6 separate regions of the Homo sapiens genome follow, and regions 2, 3, 4, 5 and 6 are each linked to region 1. The links are contacts of gene promoters, found by promoter capture Hi-C in blood cells and fetal thymus (Javierre and others, 2016). All regions are on one chromosome and are shown on one strand. Each heading gives the region's core, a stretch centred on a gene start or on the middle of the fragment in contact. The rest is flanking DNA. Distances are from core to core; before and after follow the strand shown. Region 1 holds the start of TRAPPC3L (trafficking protein particle complex subunit 3L). Region 2 has its middle 27 kb from the start of TSPYL1. Region 3 has its middle 41 kb from the start of DSE. Region 4 has its middle 23 kb from the start of DSE. Region 5 overlaps LOC100287467 (a long non-coding RNA gene). Region 6 overlaps DSE (dermatan sulfate epimerase).

Region 1 (4,112 bases), core at 690-3,189:
CACTTGCATCCTAAGAGCTGCTGAAGACTAGCAGGTTTCATAGACTGAAAACCAGCAAACCAGTGTCCCCTGTGATGATGAGTACAGCTGTGGTCGTGAAGGTTGTGCTTTGTACAGTAGCACCTGGCAGGGGCTCTGCTCCTTCCTTAAGCTCGTGTCTTGACTGGAAGGTCAATGGAGCAGAGGGGAGCCATGTCAGTCTGAAGTAAAAGCCGGCTTTTTCTAATACATCCAATGACATCCCGAATTCTCCCGATGGCCATAATGTGACCATACCACAGCCATTAGAGTTTGGTGAAATTGATTCCAGTACCGCCATCACCTCGCAGCAAGCACACAGGCCCTTTGTAGGTTATTCTCTGGGGTATCTTACTCAGAACTAGGATTGCCCACAAATTGACCCAGCAACATGCTGTCCCTGCACCTTAGTAAGCTTTTTGAGTCTGCCTCTAAAATAGTTTGCTCTAACATAATTAGAGTGTGTGCGGTACAAAATAAATTTGACTTGGAATCATCAAAATTAGCCCAAATCCCTTCTTGTTGCCAACATCCAGATAACCTTGAATACATTTCTCAACCTCTCTACTTTTAGATTCTTATCCTGTAAAATGGCCATGATTACAGTACTATTTCACAGATTGTATCTGAATTAAAATGAGATGAAGAGAACGAAAACCATGTTGTAAACTGTAAATTTGATATACATATAAGTCGTTATTATTTGCTACTGAAAAACTCTCCACCCCATACCCCACAACTAAGTGAAATTAATTTTCCTGAGATCATAGTGTCATAGAACATATGCAGTGATGGAAATGCCTTAGGTATTGTAGAATTCCATTCAATTTATCCAACCACAAGAATAACCTATAGTAACTAGTTATTATATGGTGCATTTTAATGTGTTTTACGGTACGCCTCGTCTCTTTGGTTCTCACAATTATTCTGTGAGGTGAGTGATATTGTTGCCATTTTGCAAATGTGGAAACTGAGTCATAGAGCAATAAAATGGCTTGCCCAATGCCACACAGCCAGTAAATGGTAGGGCTGCAACAGCCTGAGCCTTCCAAATCCTCCTAGGTTCTTTCAACTACACCACACTTTTCGTCAAAGTATTCTTGAGTTTGTCACTTTATAGCAAGAATTTTCCAGAACAAATAGGACTAATGGACTCAAACTATAAGTAGAAGAAAATTACTTTCCTAAACTGAGTTTTCCGCTTCCATTTCTGGAAAGATTTTGATCCTACTCTGCACCCTGCAGTTGTCAAGGTGAAAGGATTTTTTTATTTGAACTTTAAGTATTTCTGCGTAAATAAAGAGAGCCTTCAATAGCTTACGTCTCAGGAGCTCTCAAAAGAAAGCTAAGGGCTTACTTTCTCTATCAGAATCATTATACATTATGATACTGTAGAGCGCCCATTTTGAACAACAGTTTTGTAAGAAAATATTGCCCATTCTATCACTCCTTAATGTTGTTGATTGCTGCTAATGAAAAGCAAAAAAGTTACCAGATATATTTGAATACTGTAATCACACAAGATAGGGATCTATGGTTTTGGGGACAGTGTGATAACCATTGGTGTAGTTGAGGGATCACGTTTTAACTCAGGATTTATTACCTACAGATTGCTGATCTTGTCTCTCTAATTCTTACAACAATCAATCCAAGACTGAATAATGCTAACATTTAGATCTATCTTGGATTGCGAAGGTTTCTGTTTCTGATTTTAAAACAATGTCTTGGCCTGAGAACAAAACACCACTCTTGAACTCCCTCGGGCTAAAGAATTTTTTGAGTTGCAGTGCTTCAGGTCTGACTTCACATTATCAGCTTTTATGGCTCTAGATTACAATTCATCCTTACAAATGAAGCAGTTATTTGATCCATGGCAAGTTACGTGGCTATAAGACAATCCTGTTGTTCATGGTTTTTTTCCCTCTTCAGCTCAGCAAAGAGCAAAAGCAGCAGAGTGCAGAAGCAGCACTCCTGTCTCAAAGCGAGGAAGAGCTTACAAAAACAAAACAAAAAGACATGGACTGATACACCTCTAAGAAACAGGCAAAAGAAGAGAAATTGAAGATCATATTCTTCATCTATCAAGCACTATGTCTCGCCCTGCACACCGAAGACCAGAATACCATAAAATAGTAAGATCTTTCTACAAAGAGATTTTTTCTACTTCAGAGAAAATGTTTTCTTGAGTGATTTCTGATTGATTTTAAAAACTGATGCTATAAGAATTTTTAGTGGAGGAAAGACAGTGTTCAGCGAAGTGAATCATAAATGACACATCTAGGAATAATTATGATTATCTCCTACATAAAGAATAATCAATTCTTTATACACACTTTAAGGTCTTCTTTTCTGACTAATTATATCAATATGAGTGTCAATTTTTTCACCTCTGACAGAAAATATGAAAATATTAGCAATTTTTTCTATTTCATACTTCAGGAAATGGGAACTTACATATATATGTATATGTATATATATGTATGTATGTATATATATATGTGTGTATATATATAGTTGATTATGTGTAAAACTGAATCGAAATAGGTCATCAAAAAAGGATTGCCTTTAAAAATGTTTCCTAGTCTTATTGTAGCTTGGTATGTAATATCATCCTTTCTATATATTCCAGGTTAAGAGTTATTTATAAACCTTATTTTTTTGCAGATTAGTTTTAAATAATATTCTTTAATACTCTCTTATAGTTTTAGTCACTCAGATACTACAGATACAAAAACTCACTGTTAACTTTAAAATTCTGTTAATTATGTCAGGAGACTGATGGGCATTTGATATAATTAAGTAATTTCAGACTTGGTGTTTAGAATTGTAGTGACTAACTAGCATACTTCAGTTTGAAATGCCTGCAGATACCTCCTCTGGCCTTCTGGGATCTTGATTTATTTTCCTGTGGGACTCTCAAGTGCTAAAAATATATGGTACATAGTTCATATTATACCGAAATCACTTGATTTTATAAAGCAGTTAAAATGTATTTTTATCCTGATACATTCATAACCTACTGAAATAGTTAATGATGTTCTTTCAGATATTCATATGATTATTTTTATTGTTTTAAAAACGATAAAGATAAACTTATGTTGACCTTTCCTGGCATCTGTGGTATGGATTTGAGACCCAATTGAACAGATAGTTCAAGGTACAGTCCTTGGCCATGAAGCAGAATAGAGAAAGCTGGCCTTTATGGGTACTGAACCAGAAACTCAGCTGGAAATAAAATAGATTTCAATATATAATAGTGCCCACCCATCAGGGACAGAGAAGAAATTCCACTATTTCAGTTTGGCCTTAATTATAAAGGGACACAATGTTGGGGCCATGGCATGTAGGTAGGGTATGATTTTTTCTACTTTTCTCTTTTTCAAATTCTTTTGTTTTACTGCTAGTCACAACAATCTCATCATTCTCTCTCTCTCTCTCTCTCTCTCTCTCTCTTCTTCACCTTTGCTTATCTTTATGCTGTAGCATTAGTACATGGCAGCACTTTGTCTTCTGCTGTGGCTCTTATATGTTGAGCAGACTTTTCATTGATAATTTACCAGCATTTCTTGTGATTTATTATTAGGTTCTTGGAAAAACCCTAAGCCAAACCTAAATTGTCTTAAGTTTTAGTTTTCATTTATAATTTACTCTAAAAATGGGACATATTTTGGAGAACTATAAGGAAATATCACATTCCCCTTTTTTCTCTAAGTAAAAAGAAAAGAAACTCACAAATTTGCTGCTACATTTGGGTTTATCCTGAAGGTCTCCTTGGCAGATCTGGGGGCCATTAGGGATTGTGCAGACGCCTGAGAAGTCTTATCCAATTCTTGCTTCCAACTGAAAACATGGATGGCATATATTTTAGAAAAACAGAAATTTATGTTAGAAATTAGTATTTTTAAAAAACTGTCCTCCATGAAAATACATTGCAAGTTATCATGTAAGCAAATGCATAGAAAGATGTTATCATGTTACGAAATTCATTTTATTTAACAGCTCTCTCTCCCCCACCTCACATCAATGTATCCAAATGTGAATATAATTTGTTTTCAAAAGTGCAAATTGTTGCAATAATAGGAGGAAGGAAAAAA
Region 2 (4,112 bases), core at 425-2,924, 240 kb after region 1:
GCTATGTGTCATCTAGCACAACAGATGATTCTAATTTTCTTTAATTTGCTCCTCATAAAAACATCATGAGATAATAAGTTCAATTTACTAATGGCTGTTCTAAACAAAATAAAAACTTTTAGTAAAAGTAATAATCAATTAGAAATTTTAATTGATCTTATTTGTCCTCTTGATTTAAAAAACATTAACCATAAGAGCCACTATTTATTAGAATATCTATTATGAGTATCTATTATGCTCAAGGCACGGTAACTCATAATTTATATACCGTTTTTATTCATTTTCAAAAGAATGCAACAAGGCCGGGCACTGTGGCTCACACCTGTAATCCCAGCACAAAAAATTAGCTGGGCATGGTGGTGGGCGCCTGTAGTCCCAGCTACTTGGGAGGCTGAGGCAGGAGAATGGCATGAACCCGGGAGGCGGAGCTTGCAGTGAGCCGAGATCATGCCACTGCACTCCAGCCTGGGTGACAGAGTGAGACTCCATCTCAAAAAAAACCCCAAAAAACAAAAAAATGCAACAAAAGATGGGTGTTATTATCACCATTTTATAGAAGGTATACTTGAGGCTCAAGAGTTTATGTAAATTGCTTTAAAAATATAGCTAGTAAGTCACAAAACAAGAATGTGGGCACTGATCTTTCTCATTAAAAAGCCCTCATTCCACCTACTATGCCAGGCCATCGTCATAATACTTTGACATTTAACCTCCTGTTCAATATTCCTTATGTTTTCATTCATATTTATCAACAAATATTTTCTGTCTAAACAGCTCATATCAAAATATCTAAGAGTAAACAAGGTCACATCAAGTTCTATGTTACCTTATACATTTACGAGATTTACAAATCTCTTACAAGATTGAAGCCGAGCTTAAAAACAAAACAAAAACACTCCCAGAATTTCTGAGTCTAATGCTTACCAGGAAACAACTTGCCTCCAACTCTTACAACATACAATATAACAGGCAGTATTAGTTGAATAAATAGTAAGTGGAAGCAACCAGGTTGTCTAATAGTCAACAGGAGAAATAAATCCACTCCATGACATAGTTAACACAGAGCTATAGTAATATGTGGTTCAGGACATTCAAAATTAGGCCAGCTGGTTATCCAAAGAACACAGGATGGTGATGGTATACTCTGCAGTTACCATAAATTGTCACTGAATGTTCAAGGCCCTGTACAGAATGAAATAAAAAACAAAGAAAACAAGCAAAAGCAATCTCTGAGTTGATAGAGATGACTATTGAAAGAATTAGAACTAAGGAATATATTCACTGTTCACGCTTTTCCAGTAATTCCTCCTAATTTTACCTGAACTTGACTAAACAGTTCATATTTACATGACCCTCCAATTTTTAACTAGAAACATGTATTGCCCTTTGGAATTATCTTGTACACACTTCTTTCCTTGTGCAGCATGGGCTGCACAGTGTTTTGTTTTCAATAAAATATCTGCTGAAATGCCTCTGTGTAAGAGGGTAGAGAGGGGACTGTATAAAAAAATTATTTGTAATGAAAGATGAGTTGGAGTAAGGATAATAAACAGAGACCAAGATTCCTACCATTGTTTAACTTCGTACTACCTTTAGAGAAAGAATTAATCATAATTTATTAGTAACAGCATCTCATTTTTAAAAACTTCTCAATTATTATAAGCATACATTATTGTCTAGTTCATATCCATATAAAATGTATGAAGAAAAGGTTCTTTTCAGAATGTTTTCAACCAAATGCATTCAAAATTCTTTATTAAGATACACTCTTCAGGTCACTGAATCCATCACTGAAGACATAGGAACAGGCAAGTAGGAGCATATACAATGCATCGGCTTGACTAGAAACTAGCTGTCTGTCAACTGCTGAAATTATCTTGTCACAAATTCAAGAAAAGTAATGATCAATCCACACCCAAACAGTAAGGTTAATGAATGATTGGAGTGGTCAGGTTCAGATTATGCCATATTCATTCAGCAAGCCTGGACTTAAGGTCTCCATGGGTCAGGCAGTGAGTTAGGGACAGAAAGATGAAACACATAGCTGCTGTCCTCAGGACTCACATGCCTGTGTGAAAGATTCATCAACAACCCAATATAAGATAGAGTTCTAACTGCTATATTTTACCTCTGTGTAAAGTTGTATGAATACACAGAGGAGGTATATTAGTCTGCTCATGCTGCCCTAACAAAATAACATAGACTGAATAGATTAAAAAACAGAAATGTTTTTTGTATTTTCTCACAGTTCTGGATGCTGGGAAGTCCAAGATCAAGGTGCTAGTCAATTTGGCTCCTGGGGAGGGCTCCCTTTCTGGCTTGTAGATGGCAGCCTTCTTGTTGTATCTTCCCAAGGCAAAGAGAGCTCTTAGGGCACAAATCCCATCATTAGGGTCCTGCCCCCATAACTTCATCTAACCCTAATTCCTCCCAAAGGCCCCATCTCTAAAGAGTATCACATTGAGAGTTATGGCTTCAACATATAAATTTTGGGGGAACACAACATTCAGTTCACAAAAAGAGGGAAGAGTTGTATCTGCCTAGTGCTGTAGAGAAGGGTATTATAGAAGCAACATTTGAACTTGGTCTCAAAGCAGGCATAGGAGGTAACCAGTGGAAGAGCTGGGAGGGCTTACCTTATAGAGCAAACAGCAGGAACAAAAACACAGAAGGAGAAACAAACATAATCATTTCAGCATATATAGAGTAAGGAGTGCCTTAGAGAAAGCAAAAAGTGAGGCAGGAAAATTAGGATGAGACCTGATTGTAGAAACTCCCTGAGCATAATGTTTATGAGCTTAAAATTTCTTTTTATGGGCAGTGGGAAGTTTATGAAATTGTATGTGTATGTACCTGTGTGTGTATGTATGTTATAATAAAGTCTGTTGTTTGGATAACAGTTACATAAGTTCAATATCTAAAAATTGAGTTTTTAAAAGTTTCTATGTTGAAATAATTTTAAACTTATAGAAAGGTTGCAAGAATAGTACAAAGAACTTCTTTGTAGTTTTTATCCAGATTTACCAATCATTACTCTCTTGCCATATTTATTGTTCTCTTTTTACATATATATGCATATATCATTTATATACTGATATGGATGTGTATGTGTATCTATACACACATACACATACTCACATGTACATACATACATTTTTTTCTAAACTAGTTGAGAATGGGTTCACACATTAATCCCTTTATCTCTTAATAATTCAGTGTATATGTTACAGAAATAAAGATACTCTATGCCAGGCACGGTGGCTCACACTTGTAATCCCAGCACTTTGGGAGGCTGAAGTGGGTGGATCACCTGAGGTCAGGAGTTCAAGACCAGCCTGACCAACATAGTGAAACGCTGTCTCTACTAAAAATACAAAAATTAGCTGGCTGTGGTGGCACATGCTACACTGTAATCCCAGCTACTCAGGGGGCTAAAGCAGGAGAATCGCTTGAACCTGGGAGGCAGAGATTTCAGTGAGCCAAGATTACGCCATTGCACTCCAGCCTGGGCAACAAGAGCGAAACTCCAACTCAAAAAAACAAAAACAAAAAAAAGGATACTCTATAGCTACGGTATAATTATCAAACTCAGGACATTAACACTGATGTAATAATTTTATCTATTCCAATTTTGTCAATTGCCTTAATAGTGATCTGTATACTATGTCAATTGTTTTTCTTGTATAGGACCTAATCCAGGACCATGTATTGCATTTCACTTTCTTGCTTCTTTTGTCTCCTTCAATCTGGAACAGTTCCTGAGTCTTTATTTTATTTTTTGTTTCAGGAAACTAACCTTTTCTTTAATAGTGAGAACTTTTAAAGCAACAATATGTTTTAAAATCTTTATTACTGAAAAATAACTAAGGTCTTCAAGAAAGAAATGGATAGATGACAGAGAGTATTAAATAAGGGGCAGGGAGGAGCCTTGGGAGATCAAACCAGCTAAGATGCTACTGGGATGGGAGAGGATGGGAGAGAAGGGAGGACACTTATGTGGGAGACCCAACAGGATTTAGCGCAGGTTATGTGCAAAAAGAAAAAAAAAAAAAGGAAAGTTTGATTCTAATTTGGACCATTTAGTGGAGTGACAAGGACTACAGGATAAACAG
Region 3 (4,112 bases), core at 1,084-3,583, 220 kb after region 1:
GAAAATTAACATTTTAAAAATGCTGAGTCTTCCAATATATAAATGTAGTACAAGTATTCATTGATTTGTCTTTTTTAATGTCTCTTGGGAATGTTTTATGTTTCTTTTACAACTGCTAAAATATTTATTTTTAGGTTTTAAATATTTTTGATCCTATTATGATTATTTTCAGTTTTATTTTCTGTTGTTGCTCATCATAGAAATGAAATTTTTAAAATCTACAAGTCGAGATTAGAATTGAGTTTAACAAGGTTGCTGGGATACAATTTTATTAAACTCAATTCTAAGAACTATCTGTAGAGTCTTTGAGTTTTTTTATATATATAGTCTTAGCAAATAATGGCAGTTTTACTTGTTCTTTTTCTTTTAGATGGAGTCTCACTCTGTTGCCAGGCTGGAGTGCAGTGATACCATCTTGGCCCACTGCAACCTCCGCCTCTCGGGTTCAAACAATTCTACTGCCTCAGCCTCCCAAGTAGGTGGGACTACAGGTGCGTGCCACCATGCCCAGCTAATTTTTGTATTTTTAGTAGAGACAGGGTTTCACCATGTTGGCCATGATGGTCTCGATTCCCTGACTTCGTGATCTGCTTGCCTCTGCCTCCCAAAGTGCTGGGACTACAGGCGTGAGCCACTGTGCCCGGCCTACTTGTTCTTTTCAATTCTTCTTCCTTACCACACTAATTAGGACTTTCAGTGGCAGGTAGCCTAGAAATGTTGGTAACTATTGATATGGTTTGGCTCTGTCCCCGCCCAGAACCTCATCTTGAATTGTAATCCGAATTGTAATCCCCATATATTGGGGGGTTACCTCGTGGGAGGTGATTAGATCATAGGGGCATTTCCCCCATGCTGTTCTCATGATAGTGAGTGACTTCTCATGAGATCTGATGGTTTTATAAGGGGCTTTTCCCCACTTCGCAGTGCACTTCTCCTTGCTGTCACCATGTGAAGAAGGATGTGTTTGCTTTCTCTTCCACCATGATTGTAAGTTTCATGAGGCCTCCCCAGCCCTGCAGAACTGTGAGTCAATTAAATCTCTTTCCTTTATAAATTACCCAGTCTTGGGTATTTCATCATAGCAGCAAGAGAATGAACTAATACAACTATTATCTTATTCCTGATCACAGAAAGAAAGTTTTCAGTATTTCTATGGTGTTTATTATTGGTGTTTTGTAGATACCCTGTATTTGATTAAAGAAGCTCTCTTCTATTCTTCGTTTGCCCAAAGATGTATTTTAATCATAAATAGATGCTTACTTTAACCAACTGCTTTTCTGCATCTAGTACAATTATCATATAATTTTTTCCTTTATTCTGTTAATGTCATAAATTCTCAGTTTTCTAATATTAAACTAACATTGCATAATTGCAACAAACTCAACTTGTGACATTTCATATATACATGTTGTATGGTTATCTAATATTAAGAATTTAAGCATATCTGTTCATGATTGAGGTTGCCTGCAATTTTTCCTCATCATTTAATGTTCATGTTCTTATATCAAAGTTGTGTTGACTTTATAAGCTAGGTTGGAGAACATCTTTGTTTTTCTGTTTTCTGAAAAGGCATAAAATCAGGGTATTTGCTAGACTGGAAGGTTTAAAATGAGTGATTCAGCTTTTTTGAGTCATAAGGAGATAGTCATAATTTCTATTTCATCATGTTGAGATTTATGCAGTTGTATTTTTTGTATTTTTCTTATCCTACTAAGCTTATAATAAAATAATCAAAACATCAAATATATTAACTAGAAATAGTTATTACCAAAATCGGTGGTAGTTGAGAGTTGTATTTAAGGGTAGCTCTTTCTATTTCTTGATTATTAAGAGTTCCCTTATTAAAATAAATTGCTTTTTGGCATAATTGTCAAAAACATATGTAATACCAAAAAGATTAAAAATGCATTTTGTTTTGAGTTAAAATGAATAGACGCATGCAGTGGCATAGCTAGGTACTTGATGCCTGAAAGGGACCATTTTTAATACGCCTTCCTCTGTATGATAAAAGTATTTTCAGTAATAATTTTGAAATGAAACAAATAATAATTATGTCCAGAAAAGAAATGCAGGCAGTGAAAGTTTTCATTTATTCAATTTTGACTATGTAATCATGCTAATAATAAATTAATAAAGTATATATTTTAGCTGAAAATGCAAAAAGTTAAGGTTTAATACTTTTTAAGTACATTAGTATGGGCCAGGCGCAGTGGCTCACGCCTGTAATCCCAGCACTTTGGGAGGCCGAGGCAGGTGGATCACCTGAGGTTGGGAGTTCAAGGCCAGCCTGGCCAATATGATGAAACCCCATCTCTACTAAAAATACAAAAAATCAGCTGGGCGTGATGGTAGGCGCCTGTAATCCCAGCTACCCGGGAGGCTGAGGCAGGACAATCACTTGAATCCGGAAGGCGGAGGTTGCATTGAGCTGAGATCGCGTCATTGCACTCCAGCCTGGGGACAGAGCAAGACTCCATCTCAAAGAAAAGAAAAGAAAAATATTTATACCTATATACTGGTTTGCCTCAGTGAAGAATAATCACTTTATGTTTTCTGACTTTGAGCATTAATTTTTGCAAATTTGTCAATGCTTTGTCAAATTAATCTTTATATAGTCATGGTCAGTAAAATCAGTGCGGTCAGATGTGTTGACATCACTCATAGTTGATTGAAGAACATTTTTTATTTTAATTTCAAAAAGTTTCACGTGAAATAACAGATATGGAAATAGTGATGAAATCTTTAAAATAAGAATACATTCATCAGATTCATACAAATCCCATTTCACAATAAATTCCAGAAATTATAGTACTACCCATATCCTTTTTTCTTTGGGATCAGTTCCAGCAGTTTTCAAATATTTCTGCTGTTGAAAAATTTCCACTAAAATAACTTCACCAGAAAATTCATCATAAATTTCTATCATATTTGGTAAAATTCTCCAAAGCTTGTAATGATTGTGAATTATTTGAGCTTGCTTCAGGCTCAGGTCACATCTCCAGTCCCTGTGGTACTATGTAAGCCTGTATTTAAACACAGACTAAAAATAAACAATTACAGCAGAGTGATTATAAAAATGAAACAGAACTTGACTGCTTATTCTTGAAATAAACAAGTATAGCTGAGTCCATGTGCATTTGAGAGTTAGAATTACTTCCACATAGAATGCAATGTTTATTAAATAATAAGTAATAATAAAAACGTAATATTCAGCTTACATTTGTTTTGTTAAATTTCAGCAACTGCAGCAGTTGTTTAGAACTTAGACCAACAAAAGTTTTTTTATTTTTCAAAGAGGAGTAGTATTGTTGATATTGCTTGGAACTGCCAGGCATAGTAAGCGGAACTGCCAGGCGTAGTAAGCAGAACTGGCTTTTATTATTATTTTATTTTTATTTCTTTTCAATTTTCTACACACAAAGCAGCCCTTATTGCCTGTACTAGGGGTGAACTACTCTCCTTATCCCATCCTTGGTATCCCATACCACTGACTGGATGAGAAAAATAGTGAAGCAAGCTGAAAGGGAACACTCACTTCCTTTTAAACAGCAGGCCAGATAGTCTTCTGGAATTAAGAGATTCCAAGTAATTATAAGAAGAATAAAGTGGTTTGTTGATTTATTTCTGGAAACTTTCACAAAAATAGATATTACATTCCTTCTTGCTCCTTTACTGGGCTTGCTTGAATCATTACAATGTGCGTCATTTTTTATTATCTGCTGATACTGGCAGTGGAGTACTAGAACTTACTTTGATGTAATGGAATGGATATACCAAGATTTTAAATTTTGGTCAGTCTTACAGACCTCTGCAGTGCCATTTGAGGTATTTCCTGGCTGTATCTGAAACTCTTCGCACCCCATCTCAAACTGAAGGGAGGCAAAATTGTTCTGCTCAATATGTGCACAGTCTCCTCGGTCCAGAAAGGAAACGTATGAGAAATTTGATTAAAATCTAAGTGACTCATAATGTGAATCTCAAAAGAGTGTAACAAATGTTAATTAGTTTTAAATTCCAACACCCTAAGAACTTATTGTATACATTGTAGTAAGTGAAATAACTGGAAAAAACAGCATTGAATCCTTTCACAATCAGACTCTCCCCTAACCAAA
Region 4 (4,112 bases), core at 502-3,001, 200 kb after region 1:
TGAGATAAATCATTTTGACATAGAAAAAAGCAAGATATAAAATTTAAAAATGAAACTGGATTTGAGCTAATTAGCCTCTTAAAATTATAAGTTCAGATTCCTAAACACTATAAAAGGGAGTAGTACATTTAGGTATTTTTTTAAAAAGACTATGCATGTAAACATGAAATAATTAATATGTAAGTGATTCTTTTAAAGGTAGTAAGTGGTGAGCTTTTGGTTATGGCCAAGTGAGGAGACAAATTCTCTCTGTAAAAAGTAACTATAAAGCTGGATAAAATTGACAAAAACAATCATTTTAGCACTCTGAAAATCAACCAAAGGCATACAACCTGAGAAGTGTTTAGGCTTGAAAAACTGCTGAATATAAGAATAATGAGAACCTGTGGCATTCTAGCCTGAAGCTACTCACATATCTGCCCTCCCTTCCTCCTCACTTCAGTAAGGACAGAGGTTTTATAGAAGGAGGCCAGGCCATGAGGACAGGCAGCTTCTCTGTCACGATCCATGAGAGCTCACTCAATCTGGAGTGATGAGAAATGACCACTCCCAGCAGCATATTTGGTAAAAGTGCTGATCTCTGAGGTGGGTAAACAGGGAAAGCCAACTGCTCTACTAGTCTGAGGCTGTAGTCACAGTTGGAGAATACTTCTCTGGCTGTGTATATTTCCTGGAGAAGGCCCGAGCTAGTCACTCAATCCCGGCTACCCCTGAATTTGTTTGCATAAAAGAGATAAGAAAAGGTCCAGTGGTCAGTAAAAGCTGGAGCTTGAGTCAGCTTGAAAGCACCTGAACTCTGAGTGAGCTCCCCTACCACACAGAGATCCTTTGGCAAAAGACAGAAACTTCATTGGCTCAAGTGTTTCAGCACAACCTCTATCCAATCACTAAGCCATACTGGCATGGGAAAACCTTTAGGAATCCAGGTTTAGAGGTGTGTATGTATGTATATGGGTGTGTGTGTGTAGATATATGTATATATGTATACATATCCATTTTATATTAGTGTATATAAATATTGATATATATGTATATGTATGTGTATATATATATTTTGGTTATACTTTATGTTCTAGGGTACATGAGAACAACGTGCAGGTTTGTTACATATGTATACATGTGCCATGTTGGTTTGCTGCACCTGTTAACTCATCATTTACATTAGGTATATCTCCTAATGCTATCCCTCCCCCCTCCACCCACCCCACCCTGGTGTGTGATGTTCCCCACCCTGTGTCCAAGTGTTCTCATTGTTCAATTCCCACCTATGAGTGAGAACATGTGGTGTTTGGTTTTCTGTCCTTGAGATAGTTTGCTCAGAATGATGGTTTCCAGCTTCATCCATGTCCCTACAAAGGACATGAACTCATCCTTTTTTATGGCTGCATAGTATTCCATGGTGTATATGTGCCACATGTTCTTAATCCAGTCTATCATTGATGGACATTTGGGTTGGTTCCAAGTCTTTGCTATCGTGAATAATGCCGCAATAAACATACGTGTGCATGTGTCTTTATAGCAGCATGATTTATAATCCTTTGGGTATATACCCAGTAATGGGATGGCTGGGTCAAATGGTATTTCTAGTTCTAGATCCTTGAGGAATCGCCACACTGTCTTCCACAATGGTTGAACTACTTTACAGTCCCACTAACAGTGTAAAAGTATTCCTATTTCTCCACATCCTCTCCAGCACCTGTTGTTTCCTGACTTTTGGGGTTTTTTTTTTGTTTTTTTTTGTTTTTTTTGAGACGGAGTCTCACTCTGTCGCCCAGGCTAGAGTGCAGTGGCACGATCTCGGCTCACTTCAAGCTCCGTCTCCCAGGTTCACGCCATTCTCTTTCCTCAGCCTCCCGAGTAGCTGGGACTACAGGCGCCAGCCACCATGCCTGGCTAATTTTTTTAATTTTTAGTAGACACGGGGTTTCACCGTGTTAGCCAGGATGGTCTTGATCTCCTGACCTCACAATCCACCCGCTTTGGCCTCCCAAAGTGCTGGGATTACAGGCGTGAGCCACCGTGCCCAGCCTGTTTCTTGACTTTTTAATGATTGCCATTCTAACTGGTGTGAGATGGTATCTCATTGTGGTTTTGATTTGCATTTCTCTGATGGCCAGTGATGATGACCATTTTTTAATGTGTCCGTTGGGTGCAAAAATGTCTTCTTTTGAGAAGTGTCTGTTCACATCCTTCACCCACTTTTTGATGGGGTTGTTTGATTTATTTCTCATAAATTTGTTTAAGTTCTTTGTAGATTCTGGATATTAGCCCTTTGTCACATGGGTAGATTGTAAAAATTTTCTCCCATTGTGTAGGTTGCCTGTTAACTCTGATGGTAGTTTCTTTTGCTGTGCAGAAGCTCTTTAGTTTAATTAGATTCCATTTGTCAATTTTGGCTTTTGTTGCCATTGCTTTTGATGTTTTAGTCATGAAGTCCTTGCACATGCCTATGTCCTGAATGGTATTGCCTAGGTTTTCTTCTAGGGTTTTTATGGTTTTAGGTCTAACATTTAAGTCTTTAATCCATCTTGAATTAATTTTTGTATGCGGTGTAAGGAAGGGATCCAGTTTCAGCTTTCTACATATGGCTAGCCAGTTTTCCCAGAACCACTTAATTAAACAGGGAATCTTTTCTCCATTTCTTGTTTTTGTCAGGTTTGTCAAAGATCAGATGGTTGTAGATGTGTGGTATTATTTCTGAGGGCTCTGTTCTGTTCCATTGGTCTATATCTCTGTTTTGGTACCAGTACCATGCTGTTTTGGTACCAGTACCATGCTGTTTTGGTTACTGTAGCCTTGTAGTATAGTTTGAAGTCAGGTAGCATGATGCCTCCAGCTTTGTTCTTTTTGCTTAGGATTGTCTTGGCAATGCGGGCTCTTTTTTTGGTTCCATATGAACTTTAGAGGAGTTTTCTCCAATTCTGTGAAGAAAGTCATTGGTAGCTTGATGGGGATGGCACTGAATCTATAAATTACCTTGGACAGTATGGCCATTTTCAGGATATTGATTCCTCCTATCCATGAGCATGGAATGTTCTTCCATTTGTTTGTGTCCTCTTTTATTTAATTGAGCAGTGGTCTGTAGTTCTCCATAAGAAGTCCTTCACATCCCTTGTAAGTTGGATTCCTAGGTATTTTATTCTCTTTGAAGCAATTGTGAATGGGAGTTCACTCATGATTTTGCTCTCTGTTTGTCTGTTATTGGTGTATAGGAATGCTTGTGATTTTTGCATATTGATTTTGTATCCTGAGACTCTGCTGAAGTTGCTTATCAGCTTAAGGAGATTTTGGGCTGAGATGATGGGGTTTTCTAGATATATAACCATGTCATCTGCAAACAGGGACAATTTGACTTCCTCTTTTCCTAATCCAATACCCTTTATTTCTTTCTCCTGCCTGATTGCCCTGGCCAGAACTTCCAACACTATTTTGAATAGGAGTGGTAAGAGAGGGCGTCTCTGTCTTGTGCTAGTTTTCAAATGGAATGCTTCCAGTTTTTGCCCATTCAGTATGATATTGGCTGTGGGTTTGTCATAAATAGCTCTTATTATTTTGACATACATCCCATCAATACCTAGTTTATTGAAAGTTTTTAGCATGAGGCGCTGTTGAATTTTGTCAAAGGCCTTTTCTGCATCTATTGAGATAATCATGTGGTTTTTGTCTTTGGTTCTGTTTATATGCTGGATTACGTTTATTGATTTGTGTATGTTGAACCAGCCTTGTATCCCAGGGATGAAGCCCATTTGATCATGGTGGATAAGCTTTTTGATGTGCTGCTGGATTCGGTTTGCCAGTATTTTATTGAGGATTTTTGCATCGATGTTCATCAGGGATATTGGTCTAAAATTCTCTTTTTTTGTTGGGCCTCTGCCAGGCTTTGGTATCAGGATGATGCTGGCCTCATAAAATGAGTTAGGGAGGACTCCCACTTTTTCTATTGATTGGAATAGTTTCAGAAGGAATGGTACCAGCTCCTCCTTGTACCTCTGGTAGAATTCGGCTGTGAATCTGTCTGGTCCTGGACTTTTTTTGGTTGGTAGGCTATTAATTATTGCCTCAATTTCAGAGCCTGTTATTGATCTATTCAGGGATTCAACTTCTTCCTAGTT
Region 5 (4,112 bases), core at 1,042-3,541, 180 kb after region 1:
CATAATAGAGAAGACAAAAAAAAGGGAATTAGTTTTGTTTAGTCATCCATTTTATCTCAAGCAGAGGCATCCCTTCCATGTTCTTCTTGTCTGAACAAAACAAAATGTTATTTTTTGTTGTTGTCGTCCTTAGTTTATTCTTGGCTTTAGCCTAAAATAACAGAGTAACAATATTACAGGGCTGTTACAGGTATGCGGCTTCTGTTCTCCTCTTGAGTTTAATTCATTAAACTAAATTTTAATCTGCCTTTTATGTTTTACTAATCAGTCTGGTCCATGACTATACATCTGCTTCCATTCTTGAAATGCTTTTTGTTTTTCTTCCTCAGGCCAAAATTATTCTATTTGTAAAACTGCCTTACCCTGCACCTATAGATTCTCTCATCTTCAGATCACAGAAGAAGTAAGATCATTTTGGTTTGCTCAAGCCATACTGCCCTGTACTTGTACTTACTGATTCAGTGATAATCTCCTGAGCTTTCCCTTCCATTTCTGAGCATTCAGCCCTGGCCAGGCATCCTCCAGAGGCTTCTCCAAGCTTCCTTGCTCAGGCCTCCCTCCCTGCCTTTCTCAGCGCTGACATGATCTTCTCCATTACCAAGACTGCTCCGCTGCGACTGCTTCATCTCCAGATGACTCAAGCTTCGTGGGCTTAGTTTTCATCTTTAAAAAAAATGAAACATTGACCTACATTCTTAATAATAATTGAATTCCACCTCCACTGCAAGTCACAATTTGAGATTTCTGCAGGTACATACTTCCTGGCCTCACAATCTTCTAATAGGTCATGAAATGTACCAGGCACGTCCATACGTGTCTCCTTTTATCCTCACAGGCACTGACTGATGAGGAAACAGAGGCTCTGAAAGTTAAAGTGAATTTCCCAAACCATAAATGGTTCAGACCACATAACAATTATGTTTTCTGACATAAAATCTAGGATCCTTCCACTAAACCACTTGGCCTAGACTAACTTTTTGTGTCTAAAGCCTCATTTACAGTTTGCGTATCCTGGCCTCAGTTGAAAGCTATTCTCCATTCATTGACAATTGACTTTTGAAATGGATGATTTTATATCACCTCTTATTATAAACTACCTAAGGTGTCCTAAACACCTTCCAAATTATAATATTGTTCTCTGAAATTACAAAAATTACTGATATTTGTTACATGAATGAATGAAATTAGATGTTTATTCTTTTCCTTAGACTTAATAGACCAAAAGGAGTGTAACATTTAGTATTATAAGCTCCTTCATGGTAGAGACTCTTCTTCATTTCTATAGCCATTCCTCATATTTCCTGGCAGAGGGCACGTTTATTAAATTAGAATTCAATTTTCAGATTGTGGCTGTGTCCCAGTCTAGATACCATGGTGGATAATTTAATGTGTCCATCAAATAAGAGCAAGGACTTTGAAGTTGAACAAAACTAGGCTGAAATCTAGACTCTGTCACTAACTGTGTGACCTTAGGCAGGCAAGTCATTTAACATTGTTGAGTTCCACTTTCTCATCAGTAGGATTTTGATATGCAAACTTTTCTCATACAGTTTCTGGAAGGAGCAAACCAAACGTTGTATATAAAATACCTGCCAAGGAATGAGAACTCAGTAAGTAGGTGTTTATTGTCATAACTTAGAATGGTTCTAGGGGCTGTCAATGAGAGATACACCCTTTGGAATCAGTCTTGTGTGGACTGGAACATGCCTGGGCATTTTTCAGGCAGGATCTGAAGCAATTAAGGTGAGTGATACCCTACCTCTCAGAACCCTGCTAAAAGTAGTTGAGGTCATGCCAGTTTTTGCAATAGTTTGGAAATCAAGCCTTCTGTGCTCTTCAGGAGGAGATAAGGATTGTCGTGGCAGTATTCTATAATAGTAATTCTAACCCCTGGGTGCATATTAGCATCACTTGGGAGAACCCAAAACACACCAATGCCTAGTTGTACTCTTAGAAATTCTGATTTAATTCCTTCTAGGATGAAGTCCAGATACCCCATATGCTTTTAAAGGTACGAGATAGTTCCAATGTGCAGCCAGAGTTAGAACCAATGCTACGTAGTGGTGCTTCCCAAACTTTGCTGCACATTAGAACCATCTGGAGAGCTTTAAGAACTTCCGGCCACGTGCGGTGGCTCACGGCTGTGATCCCAGCACTTTGGGAGGCCGAGATGGGCAGATCACGAGGTCAGGAGATCGAGACCATCCTGGCTAACATGGTGAAACCCCGTCTCTACTAAATATACAAAAAATTAGCCAGGCGTGGTGGTGGGTGCTTGTAGTCCCAGCTACTTGGGAGGCTGAGGCAGGAGAATGGCGTGAACCCAGGAGGCGGAGCTTGCAGTGAGCCGATTGCACCACTGCACTCCAGCCTGGGCGATAGAGCAAGACTCCATCCCCCCCACAAAAAAAGAACTTCCGATGCCCCAGTTATAGTCTGTACCAACCAAATTAGAAAGTTTGAGGTGTTTAAAACTCTGTGATTCCAATGTACCAAAAGTTTGGAACCACTGTTTTATAGAGTGTTACTAAATAGGCTGGGTGAGGTGGCTCACACCTGTAATCCCAGCACTTTGGGAGGCCAATGCAGGCAAACTGCTTGAGCCCAGGAGTTCGAGATCAGCCTGGGCAACATGGCAAAACCCCATCTCTACTAAAAACACACACAAAAAATTAGCCGGGCATGGTGGCGCACACTGTAATCCCAGTTACTCAGGAGGCTGAGGCACGAGAATTGCTGGAACCCAAGAGGCAGAGGTTGCAGTGAGCCGAGATCACACCACTGCACTCCAGCCTGGGCAACAAGAGTGAAACTCGGTGTCAAAAAAAAAAAAAAAAAAAAAAGTGTTACTAAACAGGTACTTGAACCAAAGGAAGTATTAATTAGAGAATATGTTTATTTGCCACATTTCTTCTGGTTTATTAATTATATAAAATATTGTGAAGATTAGTTTTTATTAACTCAAGCTCACTAATGTATTTCTTTCTAAATACTTTTGTTGGATATGCAGTTTGGGAAAAATAATATTTGATGTCAATACTGGCTGAACTAGTGAAGTTGACTTCATATTGCAGTTAATGTTTCACTTCAAGTTTCTGCTGCCTGAGTATTACACATAGTGAATTCCAGTAAAACATTTAACAGCCAGGCCATTCAGACTTCTCCTTCTGCTCAGGCCTTTTCTTCTGCTGATGAGATTACCCGTGTCAGGCAAAGAAAATCTTGGCTATTTTGCATTTATAGTATCTTTTAGATGGGAAATAGTCGACAGTTTGCTGATGTTAAACTTAAGTATGTAGTCTAGTGACATGTTTCTATGTCCTTTCTCACCAAACTCCAAAGAATACACACTGGTTCTTTTTCCATGTTTTCTTTCATTTTTGATTTTTTAATAGTGACATTTTGATTTTGCCATTTTTACTCATCTTGGCCAAATGGAAACACTGCCATTTTAAAAAAATGTTAAAATAACAAAATAAAAACCCAACAACAGTTTAACAAACAAACAAAAAACACAGCATTCCTTAGAAGTATTTGTCATCTAAGTGAGAAAAGTATAAGGAAACTTGGAATAATTATATTCTAACCATTTTGTTTTACAAAGAAACCAAGGTTAACATAGATGGGGACTGTTACCAGTTTTTGCTGCTAATTAGTTAGAAGTGGAAGGAGAAGTCAAGCCTCCTGATTCCTAGCCAGATTTTCTTTTTCTCACTTCTCCTTGCTGAATCATTGGCCAAAAATGTACAACTAACTTCTCCTTTTGGGAAGTGCATATTTCATATTAACTCTGGCAATTTATGAAAAAATGTAGATTCATTTGCTCCATTAACAAAATATCAGTGCCTAAGAAGAAATAAGGTTGATTTTTGAAAGAAATCAAGTGCCTACTCAGAATGTGCAGGGGATGGCACCTTTCATTTAGCAGCGTTAAGCTTAATGTGTTGTTTTACTTATGATGTAATTTCTCCCCGATATATGAACAATGTAAGTTCACATCACTACATATGTAAAATCACTATCTAACTAAATGCCTGTCCTTGAGGTGAAATCTTTAATAAACTTTCACCCATCTTGAGTTATTTTTCCTCTGATTATACCTGGGAATTAAG
Region 6 (4,112 bases), core at 872-3,371, 130 kb after region 1:
GTCAACTTGGCCCCACTCAAGCAGAATACTGAGGAGTCAATTATGCCAAAGCAGACATTAAAAGAAACACATTTTACTCAAATGAAAAGTATTCTAGATGATTTGTAAATAAAAAGAATCGAAGTGTCGGAATATACCAAGTTAATTAAAATAAAATGTAGAGTAGTACTGTTAAATGGGAAAAGGCATTTCCATGTCATTATCTCAATGTTTACTTCCATGACATGAAGTGTTATTACCCAAATATCCAAGCATGCCACCCAAACATAATCTATTTAAATGGAATCAAACAACATTTATAATTGTAATCCCTTTTAACTGAGTAAGTATACTTTGCCCTAATATTCAACCTACAAAAGGTGAGAGGAAGAAACATGATAAGTAAAAATTATTCAAATTTAGGAACAAGACCTCTATTTTGGTAGAATGGCATAGCTTAAAGACTACGGTTAAAAATACACTTACATATCAAATTCTAATGACAAATTCTTAAAGAATCTATTATAATGGAGAAATTTTAAAACCTGGAAAGGCAATAGGAGGGAATAACCAGGTCTGCCTATATTGTTCATGAAAATTATAATTTAATGATATTTACCCATTTTAAAAAGGAGCTTGATATTTTAAATGCCTAACATGTTTTACAACTGTATGTGTAAAATATGTTTCAAAAAGTTCAGCTGGACAACTTTTTGATGTTATCACTCAGTCAATGTCTATGCAAGCATCCAGTGATCATGTGAGAAGCCATACAGACAACTGCCAGTTAGCAATTGTCAGTAGTCAGTATGATTTTAAGAAAAAAAAAAATAAACATGCAAGAATAGCCAGGATGATGGACAGTGGCCAGTCCTGTCAGAGAAGAAAATATAATATATAAATGTTGGCTTGGGCAAGAACTGAGCAGTTATAATAACTGTATGTAGTTGACACATTTATTTATCTTATAAAAATTTAATATAAATTTTATAACACACAACATCAAAAATATACCATCTATTTTAAATATAACATGACTCCGGAGGACAAGAAGTCTATAATGAAGAATAAAAATCTAAAGATTCTGAACACCAAGTATTTCCCAATGAAAAAGATTTAATCAAACTATCAACCTTATAGTGCAGTCAAAAAGCTACACACACACACACACACACACACACACACACACACACACACACACAGTGGCAATTAGCTGTTTAGAACCTGTGACAGGCAAAATAACAGTCCCCCAAGAAACTGTGCATACATTACCTTCCACTGGGGCAAAGGGACTTTGTAGATATGATTTAAAACCTTGTGATGGGAGATTATTCTAGATTACCCAGGTGGTCCCAATCTAGTCACACGGGTCCTTAAAAGCAAAGAACCTTTCTTGGCTGTAGTCGGAGAGAGATGTGACCATGGAGGAAGAATCAAAGAGATGCAAGGTTGCTAGCTTTGAAGGTGGAGGCAGGGAGCTACAAGCAAAGGAATATATGTGAACTCCAAAAGCTAGAAAAAGGCAAAGAAAAGTATTCTGCCCTAGAGCTTCCAGAATAAAATGTAGCCCTGCTAACACCTTGATTTTAGCCCTGTGTTACACTTCTACAAAACTGTAAGATCACTCTGTGCTGTTTTAGGCCACTGAGTATGTGGTAATTTGTTACAGCATTTGTATGCATTTTTAGGCAGTCAAGGACTACCAGAGATTTGTGGAAATCCCATAATAGGACAAAAGAGACCCAAATGAACAAACTCATTAATGCAGCTTGGGAGAAATTAAACCATGCAGGCAGAAAGAAATTTCAAGACAAAAGAAGCTCTTGAAATGGAAAACAAAATAGCAGGAAGGTAAGTGCAATAAAAGGGCTGGGGAGAAAAGTTGAAGAAACCTTGAAAATGCAAAAAAAGTAAGAAAATAAAATAGAAAACAGCAGAGGAAAAAAAAAAAAGAGGACTGGCCCAAGAGGTTAAACATGTGAAAAAGAAGAGAGGAAAAAAAAAAGAAAGAAAAAAGAAAAAAGGGGGAAGAAAAGGAGATCCAAATATATCAAGGAAAATTGCTAGAACTAAAGGGGATAAGTTTCCATATTGAAAGAATCCATGAAGTGCACAGTACACAGACTCATCTCAAAACAAGATACATCATCCCGTAATTTCAAAACACTAGTAACATAAAAAAGATCCTATATGCTTCAGAGTGGAATATCAGGTTTCATTCAAAGCATCAGGAATAGTGGGGTCAGACATCTCAACAGCAACACTAGACACTAGTATACAATAAAACAATGACTCCAAAACTCAGAGAGACAATTTCCAGACTATAATTTCATATCCAGCCAAGCTACCCTTTAAACTTGAGGGAAGAAAAAACATATACAGACATCCAAGGTCTCAAAATTTACCTCTCATAAATGCTTTCTCTGGAAGCCAGTGGAAAATATCTCCACCTAAATTAGGATGTATATCAAAAAGAAGACATGGCACAAGGAATCCAATTCAAGAGAAAAAGGAACAAAGATGGCTGTACAGCAGACCTGGCTGCAAGCAATCCACATCCTAGCATGTCAAAAAGATGCAGCATTACTTCTTCAAAAAGATGAATTATTTTTAAAAAATGTCTTATTAAGAATGTCTTGTTTGAATAGATAGAAAACTTACACAAGAGTGAGAGTCTGGCTGGTCACTAGAGATAACCATATAAAAAACTTACCAAATAAAACAAAAAGCTATTATGAATCCAAGAGAAAACAAAGAGTTGTACACACATTGAAAAGTCATTACAGTATACAATATAGTTCAGTTGTCAATAACTTTTGCCTTGTTAAAATATGCAAACAGGCTGGGCGTGGTGGCTCACACCTGTAATCCCAGCACTTTGGGAGGCCGAGGCAGGCGGATCACCTGAGGTCGGGAGTTCGAGACCAGCCTGACCAACATGCAGAAACCCCATCTCTACTAAAAATACAACATTAGCTGGGCGTGGTGGCACATGCCTGTAATCCCAGCTACTAGGGAGGCTGAGGCAGGAGAATCGCTTGAACCCAGGAGGTGGAGGTTGCGGTGAGCTGAGATCGGGCCATTGCACTCCATCCTGGGCAACAAGAGCGAAACTCCACCTAAAAAAAAAAATGAGCAAACACTTGATATTCCACTCATTAAAATTATGGCATATTTATAAAATAAAACAGATCTATATTGTAATGAAATAACTTATCTGTGTCAGAGTGAGAGAGAGATGATGCATTTGCAAGCCAAGAACACCAAAGATTGCCTACAACCACCAGAAGCTAGGAGAGCAGCTTAGGATGGTCTCTCCTTCAGAGAGCCTCCAGAAGGAATGAAGCCTATTGATATCTTGATTTCAGACTTCTAGCTTCCAGAACTGAGAGAGAATAAATTTCTGTTGGTTTAAGCCACCTAGTCTATGGTATTTTGTTACAGCAGCCCTAGCAACAAATACACCGACACTAAAAAACCTGACCGGCCATTGCTGCCACCTCGTACACTCCCCATCATCTTCCTGTCGCTGCCTGAACACTCAGTTACTCCCATTTACTTGAAAGAGCACTTGCCTAATATTCTGAGAACACGGCAGGCAAAAGGGCAAAGAATTACTTGAGGAATGAAGTTTCAAAATAATGAGGGACACTTTTTCACAATGGGAAAAACCGTAGTCAAATCACCAATTTTTGCTGCCCTCATGGTGGGAAAACATCAAATCCAAAGTGAGGTAGGCCTGGAGGAGCTAGCATACGTGAAATGATATTTTGCTGTCTCTTAGAGTACGGTTAATATATTTACCCACTATTTCTGCTTTTAATGTTTTATGAATAATTTTCTTTGATAATTTGATTTTTAAAGGTTTTGCTGAAATTATGCAGAGCTTCATAAAATCCAGAGGCCTTTTTAAAACAGTGAATGAACTGTGGCTGATTTTACTCTGGGTGCAGTAGGAAATAATGCTCTGCACAGTTTATTCCATTCAGCCCCGGAAACCTGACATATAATCATTAATCACAGGCCTGTACTGTTTCTTAATGAAATAAAGATGCTTCCCAATACATTTTGAGAATAAGCATTCTAAACACTAGAATTATAGAATAAAGAGGGCATCTTAAAGAGTGGAATGG

What was found. Contacts are between HindIII fragments. The CHiCAGO score rates a contact against its expected background, and 5 or more counts as called.
Region 2: a fragment that was not itself captured here is called in contact with the fragment with the promoter of TRAPPC3L in region 1 in 16 of 17 cell types (neutrophils, total B cells, naive B cells and 13 more); the score reaches 34.3 in neutrophils.
Region 3: a fragment that was not itself captured here is called in contact with the fragment with the promoter of TRAPPC3L in region 1 in 12 of 17 cell types (neutrophils, monocytes, naive B cells and 9 more); the score reaches 15.3 in neutrophils.
Region 4: a contact is called between a fragment that was not itself captured here and the fragment with the promoter of TRAPPC3L in region 1, in 3 of 17 cell types (total B cells, naive B cells and neutrophils). The highest score is 8.9, in total B cells.
Region 5: a fragment that was not itself captured here is called in contact with the fragment with the promoter of TRAPPC3L in region 1 in 12 of 17 cell types (neutrophils, naive B cells, total B cells and 9 more); the score reaches 19.5 in neutrophils.
Region 6: a fragment that was not itself captured here is called in contact with the fragment with the promoter of TRAPPC3L in region 1 in 6 of 17 cell types (neutrophils, naive B cells, monocytes and 3 more); the score reaches 14.9 in neutrophils.

What each region holds. Positions count from the first base shown.
Region 1 is chr6:116,543,511-116,547,622 of GRCh38, reverse strand. It overlaps TRAPPC3L (trafficking protein particle complex subunit 3L), which reads left to right and starts at 1,939. Exons shown (of 5, transcript NM_001139444.3): 1 at 1,939-2,150. The coding sequence starts at 2,109. It also overlaps a transcript of CALHM4 not described here. The HindIII fragment of the contact is 9,007 bases long and covers 436-4,112 here.
Region 2 is chr6:116,305,076-116,309,187 of GRCh38, reverse strand. It overlaps a transcript of DSE not described here. Among named protein-coding and RNA genes, the nearest start is that of TSPYL1, 27 kb to the right of the region's middle. RefSeq lists an enhancer at 3,639-3,808. The HindIII fragment of the contact is 6,577 bases long and covers 1-4,112 here.
Region 3 is chr6:116,328,211-116,332,322 of GRCh38, reverse strand. It overlaps a transcript of DSE not described here. Among named protein-coding and RNA genes, the nearest start is that of DSE, 41 kb to the left of the region's middle. The HindIII fragment of the contact is 1,232 bases long and covers 1,718-2,949 here.
Region 4 is chr6:116,346,063-116,350,174 of GRCh38, reverse strand. It overlaps a transcript of DSE not described here. Among named protein-coding and RNA genes, the nearest start is that of DSE, 23 kb to the left of the region's middle. The HindIII fragment of the contact is 4,031 bases long and covers 1-3,766 here.
Region 5 is chr6:116,363,560-116,367,671 of GRCh38, reverse strand. LOC100287467 (a long non-coding RNA gene) reads left to right here. Exons shown (of 1, transcript NR_148944.1): 1 at 1-247. It also overlaps a transcript of DSE not described here. Among named protein-coding and RNA genes, the nearest start is that of DSE, 5.3 kb to the left of the region's middle. The HindIII fragment of the contact is 3,293 bases long and covers 645-3,937 here.
Region 6 is chr6:116,413,419-116,417,530 of GRCh38, reverse strand. All of the region lies in intron 2 of DSE (dermatan sulfate epimerase), which reads right to left. Among named protein-coding and RNA genes, the nearest start is that of DSE, 45 kb to the right of the region's middle. The HindIII fragment of the contact is 8,630 bases long and covers 1-4,112 here.